Regions from separate parts of the Homo sapiens genome. Here region 1 is linked to region 2. Evidence: promoter capture Hi-C in human tissues and cell types (Jung and others, 2019). All regions are on one chromosome and are shown on one strand. Each heading gives the region's core, a stretch centred on a gene start or on the middle of the fragment in contact. The rest is flanking DNA. Distances are from core to core; before and after follow the strand shown. Region 1 overlaps LINC02981 (long intergenic non-protein coding RNA 2981). Region 2 holds the start of HOXA4 (homeobox A4).

Region 1 (5,530 bases), core at 1,548-4,047, 680 kb after region 2:
GTTTGTTTACTTGACTTGAAAATGCAGGTAGCTGCGATGCGAAAGTTCGTTTCTCTCCAGGATATGGGATACAAAAAGCAGAAATACAAAAAGTAGAAACACATTTTCTGGTTTTGTTTATCTTAACGTGAAAAATAATATACATCACAATAAAAATAATATACATCACACATCACACGCTGGGGCCTGTTATGGGATGGGGGTGGGGGGAGGAATAGCATTAGGAGAAATACCTAATGTAAATGACGAGTTGATGGGTGCAGCAAACCAACATGGCACATGTATACCTATGTAACAAACCTGCACGTTGTGCACATGTACCCTAGAACTTAAAGTATAAGAAAAAAAATTAATTAAATAATTAAAAAAAGAAAAAATATATATAGATTTACTTGTAACAGAATGGTAGGCAAATACATCTAGATTGTCTACATCTTTTAAAATGCAGTCTTGGATTTACAAATACGTGCAGATGTCAATAATACCTGACATAATTTTTACTAGTTTACAAAATCATTGCCTACATTACCTTATACAGGTACTTGGTTGAGTTGAATTTTCTATAAATGATTCTTAATAAGTAAATGAGATTAATGGACTAAAAATTGAAATTTGTAAATGCCTCCATTACCTATTCATGCATCATAAGCATTTAGTCTTTTAAAAAATTTAGTAGGCCCTGATGATTCAAAAGGCCTTGATTTCTTGAGCCCTTTGTTTGTAAAATGGTGACAAATTTGGATGAAATGCTGCATGTTGGTAATACTGAAACCTTGCAGATAAAGGGTTATTTCAAACCTTTCTTATGAGAATATACATGCAAACTGTGTTTGTGTTAACTCAAATTCTAAATTAGTTGCAGTGTGAACTAATCATTTCAAGCATTAAAGCTTGGCCTTGGGATGAAATTAAAGGAGAAACATTTAGGCAGCATCATTGGAGAATTACCCTCAAAGTAAGATCACTAAATCCTTAAACATTTTCCTAAGGGAAAAAGTGGAAGTATCATCAGTTTCTAATTCTAAGTAGAAAAAAAAAAATTAGCCTGTGGACCAGAGGAAACAGCCTTGTGTCAGAACACTGAATTATGTTGTTTCTACCTCTCCTTTTCATTGTAACTAATGAATCCTAATATAGGCAATAAAGACATATAAAAGAGAAATCTACATTGTAGGTCTCTGATTTATCATCCACAGAACAACTGAAGTAACTGTTCTGGGATGGGGGTATTACCTGGGTATCTATGCCCCAAATATACAAACCCCTGCATGGCAGGTATTTCTAAAAATTTGTGCACAAAAAAATCGGCTGGGTGCAGTAGCTCATGCCTGTAATCCCAGAACTTTGGGAAGCCGAGGCAGGAGGATTCCTTAAGCCCAGTATTTTAAGATCAGCCTGGGCAAATTAGCAAGATCCCATCTTTATTTTTTTAATTATTAAAAAATTTTTTTAAAAATTTTAGAAAGATGTATTTTAAAAATGAGTATAAGAGAAGCAATGCAGGAGGGAAAGAATGAAAGAAAAACAGCAGAAGACAAAGCAGTAGAGGATAGCACTTACAGATCACTCCTGACTCACCCCTGGAAAACATTCACTCAGTTGTTTGCTGGGGAGCACACCTCCCTTCCTCCCAGGCATCCATTCAATCATCTAAAACATTTACTGAACTGGACACAGAGCTGGGCCCTGAGACTACAGACATGAGTCAGACATGGTCCCTACCCTCCAGGAAATCACAGTCTTGCCAAAATACAAACACAAAAAGTGAACGTCTGAAAAGAGCTCTAAGAAGAAAGTGTCGAGTGCTGAGCGAGCCTAGAAGAGGAGGCTGTTCCTCTGCCTGTGAGGACAGGCGGGAATTGGCTGACCCTGAATGAGGAGTATGCTTTCCCCAAGCAGCAAAGAGGCAAGGACCTGGAGCTGCTGAGGAGAGTCACAGGAGAGGAAGCTCAGGCGAAGGTGAGGGCTGGGCTGTGAATAACCTGAGCAACGGACTGAGCAGTTAGGCTACATTCTGCAGCCAGAGAGGACCCACGGCAGCTTTTAAATCAGAGGAGTGGCATGATGGTGTCTGGGTTTTGGAAAGGCCAGTGGCAGCAGCATGAATCGTATGACCTTGGGACGTGCCCTGGGCAGATGATCCTCTTCCCCAGGGCAGCTGTCCTCAACGTGAAGGCTTTTCCCTGTTCTAGATCAGTGACTTCATCCTGGGATATAACAACTTCCTGTACTCACAGATTCTAGGAATCATTTAATGGGCGCAGTGAGGATGGCTCATCCAGGACCTCAGCAGGAAATATCCAAAGTATTTTGATATTTGACTGGAGTGACTCCATGACTAGGAGCTGGAATCATCTGCAGTCTGGCCTGGATGGCTCAAAGTCCAGGACTGCTGGCTGGAGTTCCTCACAAGGGCATGCTCAAAGCTCATGCCCAGTGCATCTCACAGGGAGTCGGGAGTCAAAAATATGGAAGCTCAGTGTCTTTTAGTATCTTATGTCTGAGAGAAGGATCTGTAAAAGGATTGCTTGCCATATTTACGTATTTTTGTTTTATTTCTTACTGCATCATTTAGCTGTGACCTCCATAAAAGAGGTCTCCAAGATGTGACCTGGTCATCCCTTTTCAACCTCAGCTCCCACCCACATACCCCAAACTCTGCAGCAACCAGTTGCTTGGAGTTGCCCATAAACATTCTCTCCTTTTTCCCGTCTTGCCTTTTCACAGACTGTTTCCTCCACCCGGAATGCGCCCTACATGCCTGGCAACCTCCTACTTCCCTTTCACGATTCAACCCTAACATCTTCTGGTCTCAGAAGCCTTTGCTGAGTCCCCAGGCACAGTTGTGCCTTCCTCCTCCCCACACCCCTACACCTGGTGTTCCATTATATTCTATACTTAGCACTCTGCTGCAATTAATTGTCTTCACAACCACCTCTCTCACTAGCCTATGAGCCCTCAAAACTCTTGAAGGGTGGAGAATCTGTTATTCTTCTTTGTCATCTCTCCAGCTCACAAACATAGTAAGCACATTGGAGATGTTTAACCAATGTGGACTTTTCATAGTGACTTTCAAGTTAACCTTCATGTTCTTACAGCATTTTATAAGGCTTATATTAAGAAAGCCCTCTTCAGCCTGGGCAACATAGTGAGACTTTATCTCTACAAAAAAATTTAAAAATTAGCCAGGCATGGTGGCACATACCTATAGTCCCAGCTACTCGGGAGGCTAAGGCAGGAAAATTGGTTGAGCCCCAAGGGTTAGAGTCTGTAGTGATCTATGATCATACCACTCACTGCACTCCAGCCTGGGCAACAGAGCAAGACCCCATCTCTGGGGGTTAAAAAAAAAAAAGGAAAGAAAAGCCCTCTTAACATCTCATCATCTACATGCAACAATCCTGCATGTATTGGCCCCATTTAGAGATGAGAAAACAGAGATTCAGAGGCATGTGGTGATTTGCCCAAAGACACTGACCAAGAAAGTGACAGAGCTAAGACTTCTCTTCCTCTGCCGTCTGATCTACTCAGAGCTCTTGGATAACATGGTGCCACAAAGTGCCCAACCTCAAGTTCAAAGACTTACTTTGGACATAATTTCTTTCCAGTGTCTAGGGCTGTACCTGCTCCTCTGCATACTCCAGTCCCATTGGTTTCTGTTTGAGCACCATGTGTTGGGGCAAGCCCAAGGGCAGGACTCTCAGAACAAGGGCAAGGGGGAACTGCGGGAAGTCATTCAGGATGGCCTCGGGAAGCCTGACTTAAGTTCAAATTGTGAACAAGTCAGTGAGCTAAGGCTGCAGCCGGGACTGCAGTGGAAGGGGGAGGGATGAGATCTTGAATTATTTCTTTTGCAACCCTGTCCCTGGCATCACTTTGTGTAGCAAAGCTTACCTTAGAGTCCATGTCCTACTGAAATCACCATAAGATCAGATCTATCAGAGCCCAAATTAATGAGATTTCTAGGTGTTTATGAGTTGTCTTCATTTCAATTTAATTTTTCGAACAGGAAATATATTTACAGAGTTTGAAATTCCAAAGGCACAAGAGGATATACAGTAAAAAGTTTTCTTCCCACTCTTGTCTCTCACCACCAATTTCCTTTCTACAAAGGTATTTCATGAATATTCAGGGAAATACAAGCATTTATATATGCATACATACATACACACACATATTCTTTTTCTCTCATTTTCATATGAAGGGCAGACTATTTATACACTGTTCTACATCTTGATTTCTTTTTCTGCTTAACAATATGTCTTGGGATTCCCTCCATACCAGCACACAAAGAGGTGTCTCCATCATTTTTACAGCTGTACTGGATCCCATTGTATGGCTGTGCCAAAATTTGTTTAACCAGTTCCCGGTTGAGGGGCATTTATTTTGTTTCCCATCTGTTGCTATTATAAACAATGTTGCAGTGAATAACCTTATAGATACATCATTTTGTTCACATGGGAGTATATCCATAAGCCAGATTCATAGACTTGGAACTGCTGGATCAAAGGGTGTGTGTGTTTGTAATTTCAATGGGGAGTGTTCCAAATGACTTTCCACAGACTTTGTACTAATTTAAAATCCTACCGGAGTTGTACAAGAGGGTCTTTTTTTTCCACAGAAACCTCTTTTGTACATAAACCATCAGGGATAGTCTAAGGATTCAAAGAAGCCATGAAGACCAAACAACTCTTCTGAATTTAAAAAATAAAGGTGGGGTGGGGCGAAATGCAAATCAAAACCACAGTGAAAAAAGGGGAAAAAACATGCAATGAGATACCACTTCATACCCGCAAGGATGGCTATAATCAAAAATAAACAAAAAGTAAGTGTTGGTGAGCACGGAGAAATTGGAATCCTTCGCATTGCTGGTGAGAATGTACAATGGTACAGCTGCTTTTAAAATCAATTAGGTGGTTTCTCAAAAAGTTAAATATAAAATTACCATAGGACCCAACAATTCCATGCCTGGGTATATACCCAAAAGAATCAAAAGCACATACTTAAGCAAATACCTGTACACAAATGTTCATAGCAACGTTATTCACAATCGCCAAAAGGTGGAAAAAATCCAAATATCCATCAAGGGATGAATAGATAAGCAAAAGTGGTAAGTACCTACAATAGAATATTACTCAGCCATAAAAATGAATGAAATTCTGATAAATGCTACAAAATGGAAGAACCCCCCCAAACCAATTTCATTTACATGAAACATTTACATCAGGTAAATCCACAGAGTCACATGCAGATTGATGGTTGCCAGGAGCTGAGGAGTCAGGGAAATGGGGAGGGATTGTTTAATGGGTGGACAGTTTCCTTTGGGGATGATGAAAATGTTTTGTAACAAGATACAAGTAGTGGTTGCACACACTGTGAATGTACTAAATGCCACTGAATTGGAGTTTAAAATGGATTACAGTTTGTGTCATGTAAATTTCACCTCAACCAAGTAGAAAAAAGGAAAGAATAAAAGTGGAGGTGCGTTTACGTCCTTGTTCCCAATATTCTTGGTTGCTGACTTTCTGAA
Region 2 (5,464 bases), core at 423-2,922:
GGCTAAGCATTAAGTGACTATCCATCAAATGGATATATTCCAGCATTTAGTAACTCATATGAGTAACCAGTATGAATGAAGATAGAATTGACATTCCTTTTCAAGTGTCTCCAGGCTTAGGAAATAATTTTCCTTGTCTGCGTTCCAGACTCAGTTGTGAGAAGGCTGTTTATACTGCTCTTTGAAAAATCAACTAAGGTGCACCAGCTGAAAAATCCTTGCTTTTGCATGCCAATATGAAAATATTTTTAGAATGGTGACTATGCTAGTTTACACTGCTTTAATTTAGGCTGAAAAGTAGAGGATCTAGATATGTCTACTACTCAGAAAAGAAAGGGAGAAAGCACACAGCACAAATAAGGCATCAGTATTTACTTCAAAGATCAACATTAGGTGGAATTAATAAGTAATTTATTTGTTAATAATGGCGTAATTAGTGTACCCATCAAATTTCAATTACCAAATAGCAGGCAACAGTCTCCTCTCCCTCCTTTCCGGAGCTTCTGATATCGTTAATACGCTAATTTTCAGCAATTCAGAAATTATAGACTGTCCTGCAAATATAACTCTAGCCTCAGATACTGCCTGAGAAAGCAGGATCTAAAAGAGAAAACATGAAATTCTTAGCTGGAAAAGACCCATCAGCGATCAGACCCGGCAAGGTGTTTATTCTACCCTTAGCTTGTTTTTGTTTGGGGATAGTTCTGAAATAGGAAGTTATTGTTTTCAAAGCTCGGTTCTGTGGAGGTGTTGCTTCTATCCATTCCCATCCTTGGGCCACCTTCTCTCTCACAATCGCACCTAGTAAATGCGGGCATATTTAGCTCTCACATCGACAACCCCCGTCAAATTAGATGCTATTACGAAGGTTCCAATTTTTCTTAGGAAAACACGAAACAGATTGTCTCTGAAAGAAGGAAAAAATGAAAAGTGTCCATCCAGTTATAATGGAATGGCCTCGATTTACATCCTTGGGTCGATTTCTCTTAGCTGCCCGCCCACCCTTTGCAGCTTCTGCCAAGCTTCTCAAAGCAAGGGCTCTCAGGCTGACACGCAAGGAGCAGGGTGTGGGGAAGGGGGATCTGCGGTTGAGAAAATGTGTCTGGTGGCCTCTCAGTGGCGTACATAAAAACCAGGATGCCCCTCGGTCCCAACGCCCTTCCTTTCGCCTGTTAGCCTAGAACCCCTGAAGGACACGAAGCCTGACTGGGTTGCGCCCGAGGTCAGCGCTGAGTCGCGGCCGCCAGACAGCCCGAGGCCTAGGCCAGCAGTAGGGCAGGCAGAGGGCTCCCGAGAGGACCTACAGCCTGACAGGGCCTGAATTCCCAGCGGGAACCAAAGCTGGGGGGCTGGGGTCCAAAGCTCCTGCTCCCTCCCCCAGCCCAGGGGCCGGACAGCAGCATCCATCACGCACCCGCGCGTTTCCTGATCCGGGTCCGCGCGCGCGGTGCGCCCATTGGTGGGGGCGCTGCACGTGGGGCACGGGGCGGGGCGCGCGCTGGGCTGGGGAGGAGCGGCTCGAACTTTGGTGGCGGCGTCTGCGGGAGGGGGAGGAGTGGGCACTTGACAGCGGGGGGAGGGGAAGGGCGCAGAGGAAAGGGGGATGGGAAGCGAGGCAGGAGGGGGAGGGGCCTCGGCAAGCCCAGAAAAAACGACAACGCGAGAAAAATTAGTATTTTTGCACTTCACAAATTAATGACCATGAGCTCGTTTTTGATAAACTCCAACTACATCGAGCCCAAGTTCCCTCCCTTCGAGGAGTACGCGCAGCACAGCGGCTCGGGCGGCGCAGACGGCGGCCCGGGCGGGGGCCCCGGCTACCAGCAGCCCCCAGCGCCCCCGACCCAGCACCTGCCGCTGCAGCAGCCCCAGCTCCCTCACGCGGGCGGCGGCCGAGAGCCCACTGCCTCCTACTACGCGCCGCGGACCGCCCGCGAGCCCGCCTACCCTGCTGCCGCGCTGTACCCCGCGCATGGGGCCGCGGACACCGCCTACCCCTATGGCTACCGCGGCGGCGCCAGCCCCGGGCGGCCGCCCCAGCCCGAGCAGCCCCCGGCGCAAGCCAAGGGCCCAGCGCACGGCCTGCATGCGAGCCACGTCCTGCAGCCCCAGCTGCCGCCGCCCCTGCAGCCTCGCGCCGTGCCCCCAGCGGCCCCGCGGCGCTGCGAGGCGGCCCCCGCCACCCCAGGCGTCCCGGCAGGGGGCAGCGCCCCCGCGTGCCCGCTGCTCTTGGCCGACAAGAGCCCGCTGGGCCTGAAGGGCAAGGAGCCCGTGGTGTACCCCTGGATGAAGAAGATCCATGTCAGCGCCGGTACGTGGCGCCGCTTGGGAGGCGCGGGAGGTGGGCCGGGGCTGGGCCTGGGTTCGAGGGTCGGGGTCAGGAGGGAGAGGCTCAGGGGAAGGGGGCCTCGGGAGGGGAGCCCCCATCTGACCCGGGCTGCGGTGAGATGTGGGTATGTGCGCGCCAGCCAGCCGCCTGATCCCAACATGAGAACCCTTTTGTACCCAGGGTCCCTTTATCAGGAGATTTACGAGACGCCAAACTGTTAGGGCAGTAATTATAGCCCCCATAAATTTAATTGCCCTGGCAGAGGCTTCAGGCCATGTGTCTTTGAAGCTTTTCTTCAGCCCCAATGCCCAGCACCATTCTTTATGGCTCTCGGGTGTTTCCCGTTGTCAATAGCCTGTGAAACATTTTCTTTGCCGTTTTATGTATCTTGCGTGAACTTGGTGTCAGGTTATTATATAATGATGATGTCCAATTGCTCTTCCCCACCCCACCTTCTCTCTCCTCCTCCTTTCCCTCTCTTCCGCTCCCTCCTCCTTGGCCTTCTATTTCGGGGTTCTGGGTTTTCAGTTAACCCCAGTTATAACGGAGGGGAGCCTAAGCGCTCTCGAACCGCCTACACCCGGCAGCAGGTCTTGGAGCTGGAGAAGGAGTTCCACTTCAATCGATACCTGACCCGGCGGCGCCGCATCGAGATCGCCCACACGCTCTGTTTGTCTGAGCGCCAGGTCAAGATCTGGTTTCAGAACCGGAGGATGAAGTGGAAGAAAGACCACAAACTGCCCAACACCAAGATGCGATCCTCCAATTCGGCCTCGGCCTCTGCCGGCCCACCAGGGAAAGCACAAACTCAGAGCCCACACCTCCATCCCCACCCCCACCCGAGCACCTCCACACCCGTTCCCTCCTCCATATAATCTTCTAGAGATCTTAACCAGTTTCTATCCCTTACCTGCTTTTCTCTTCTCTTCTCCTGCTCCGTTCCTCATCCACCCCTCCCCATCTGGACCATAATAGACACCAAAACAAACCCAAATTGGTGAAAAGAATAATCAAAAAGAAGACATTATCCGGTTAAGAGTCTGTGCTGGTTGCCACCCAAGAGAGAACAGTTGTCCAGGATGCTGGCTGGTGGAACAACCTGCTGGCCCGAAACAAGGCTGCCAGGTGTGGATACCTGAGAAGGACTACTTGGTATCAAATACTTTTGAGATGGCTACAGTCAGCTAGCTGGACAGCCCATGCTGAGTGGGGACATACACTTGCATCTTTGTTGAAAGCAGAAGAAGACAGACCCTTTCCCCACCTTCCTTACCTCCTCTTCCCCCATTAAGGCAGCTCATCCAAGCTTGTATTTAACTGAATAAATGAGTAGACATTGTGGACCTCACAAGATTATTTAATTCTTAAGATGTGTAGACCTTGATGGTAGGTGTGACATGTTAGTTTTTCTTACTTGCATTTATTTAAGACACTGTTACAGAGATACTGTTGTCCCCTTCTGGGGCACGGTCTTTGGGGAGAGGGGAGTGCATTTAGACTTATGTGGAACTGTACAAATTGTGATGTGGCTACATAGAAAGCCATGTGCTAAGAATAAACTCCATTTAAAAAACATTAAAAATCTAAGATTCATGTGTTTTCTAAGCTTTTCATTAAGAAAACAAAAGTCCTCTGGATTGAGATACTTGACCTTGCATGTAAAAACCTTGTAGATAGCTTGAGCTGGATTCACTTGGATTCTGACGGCTCACATAATTTGTGTGTGAGAGTGTGTGTATGTATGTTCAACTTGAGCTGAACTCTTGTCAAGCTTGGCCTACTGTGGAAAAGTTCCAAAGAGTAGGAAGGCTCTTGAGCTCTGAGAGGGCTCCTCTTCTTCCCAAACTTGGCCAGGCTTTCAGGCTTCAAGTCTCTGTAAGGCATAGAAACGTGTCCTTCCCTGCAATGAAAGTTGAAACCATGCAGTGCTGTGGGCCCAGGAGTTTCTGCAGCTGTTCTACACACTGAACTCTGAGCACACTTGGAAAGAAGTGGTCTCTTTGGTATTTGGTATTTGTTGCACCTTCACACTTAATCTGCCTGTTTCCCAGGAGATAAAAAATAGTTTGTGCAAAGGGTTGAGATTAGTTTTTGTTTCCTGGCTGTTCTTAAGGTCCTCTTCACTAACTACAGACTGGGAATTTTTGTTTGTTTGCTTGTTTGTTTCTCTTTTTTGAAGAAAGAGCTTTCAAATAAACTGAATTTTACAAGTACACTCTCCAATGTCTCTTCTGAGGAAAAAGCATAATATACCCCTAAAGTTCACCCCATGCAAAGTAGACCTGGGAGAGTTTACTGCTGGAAAATAGCCAAACTGGGTCACTTTCCTCAAATGCTTTGTGAATTTTCTGCTCGATTCCAGAGATCTAGATCCAAAAGGCTGAAAATCAAAACCCACTTCTCGATCTCTATAACCCTAGTATTTGTTTACTGATTTAGATTTGATGCTTACTGCAGGGAGTTCCCTACAATAAGACCACAAAAACCTGTGCACACTAGCCCCAGAATATTAGAACTGTCACCTGGCCTTGAAAAAGTGCAACTTTTAAGTAATGTAGTAATTTTAGCATAGATGGGAGTAAGTGCTCACCTGCCTCTGCAATATCAGAGAATTTTTAAACACATTTCTCTCATTAGTGGCAAAACCCTTTAGCCAGTGTCAGAGCTGGTACCCCTTTCACCCCTGCTGCCCTGTGTGTGATACAAACAAGGGTGATCCGTTCTATACCTACAAATCAGATTTGAGAGGAAAGTGATAGATACCAGTCTCTGAAGAGCCAAGAAAATTCGGGAGCAATCAAATACACACTTACCTTCCCAAATCAGGATAAACCTGGCATAAAGTGCATTTTATAAGGTGTGAACGGGTGCCAGGGATTTCTGGAGGCAATGCAACTGCTGCTGAAACTTATTAACCCTCCCCCTACTACACACACTTGTAAAACAAAATTAAATCACGCTGAAAATAGCAATTTTCCCAGGAATCATTAATCACCTCAAACAATAAATACTTCTTTGTAATTCAACAGCAATTCTGAAAGGCATTCTCTGGGAAAAGTCTGTGGAGGAGAGAGGGATCTTCTTGCAAATAATGTGGTCTCAGGCAAGGACACAGCATCTTGGCTGTCTGCTAAA

Evidence for each region. Contacts are between HindIII fragments. The study calls those that stand out against the background at their distance.
Region 1: a fragment that was not itself captured here is called in contact with the fragment with the promoter of HOXA4 in region 2 in 1 of the 25 tissues and cell types used here (mesendoderm cells).

What each region holds. Positions count from the first base shown.
Region 1 is chr7:26,446,112-26,451,641 of GRCh38, reverse strand. The region is part of intron 1 of LINC02981 (long intergenic non-protein coding RNA 2981); the gene reads right to left. Among named protein-coding and RNA genes, the nearest start is that of SNX10-AS1, 49 kb to the right of the region's middle. The HindIII fragment of the contact is 4,909 bases long and covers 343-5,251 here.
Region 2 is chr7:27,126,965-27,132,428 of GRCh38, reverse strand. HOXA4 (homeobox A4) reads left to right here and starts at 1,672. Exons shown (of 2, transcript NM_002141.5): 1 at 1,672-2,311; 2 at 2,858-3,904. The coding sequence starts at 1,696. The coding sequence ends at 3,204. It overlaps HOXA3 (homeobox A3), which reads left to right. Exons shown (of 6, transcript NM_153631.3): 3 at 5,359-5,464. HOXA-AS2 (HOXA cluster antisense RNA 2) reads right to left here. Exons shown (of 4, transcript NR_122069.1): 4 at 3,669-4,229. RefSeq lists a silencer at 1,445-1,514. The HindIII fragment of the contact is 3,192 bases long and covers 1-3,126 here.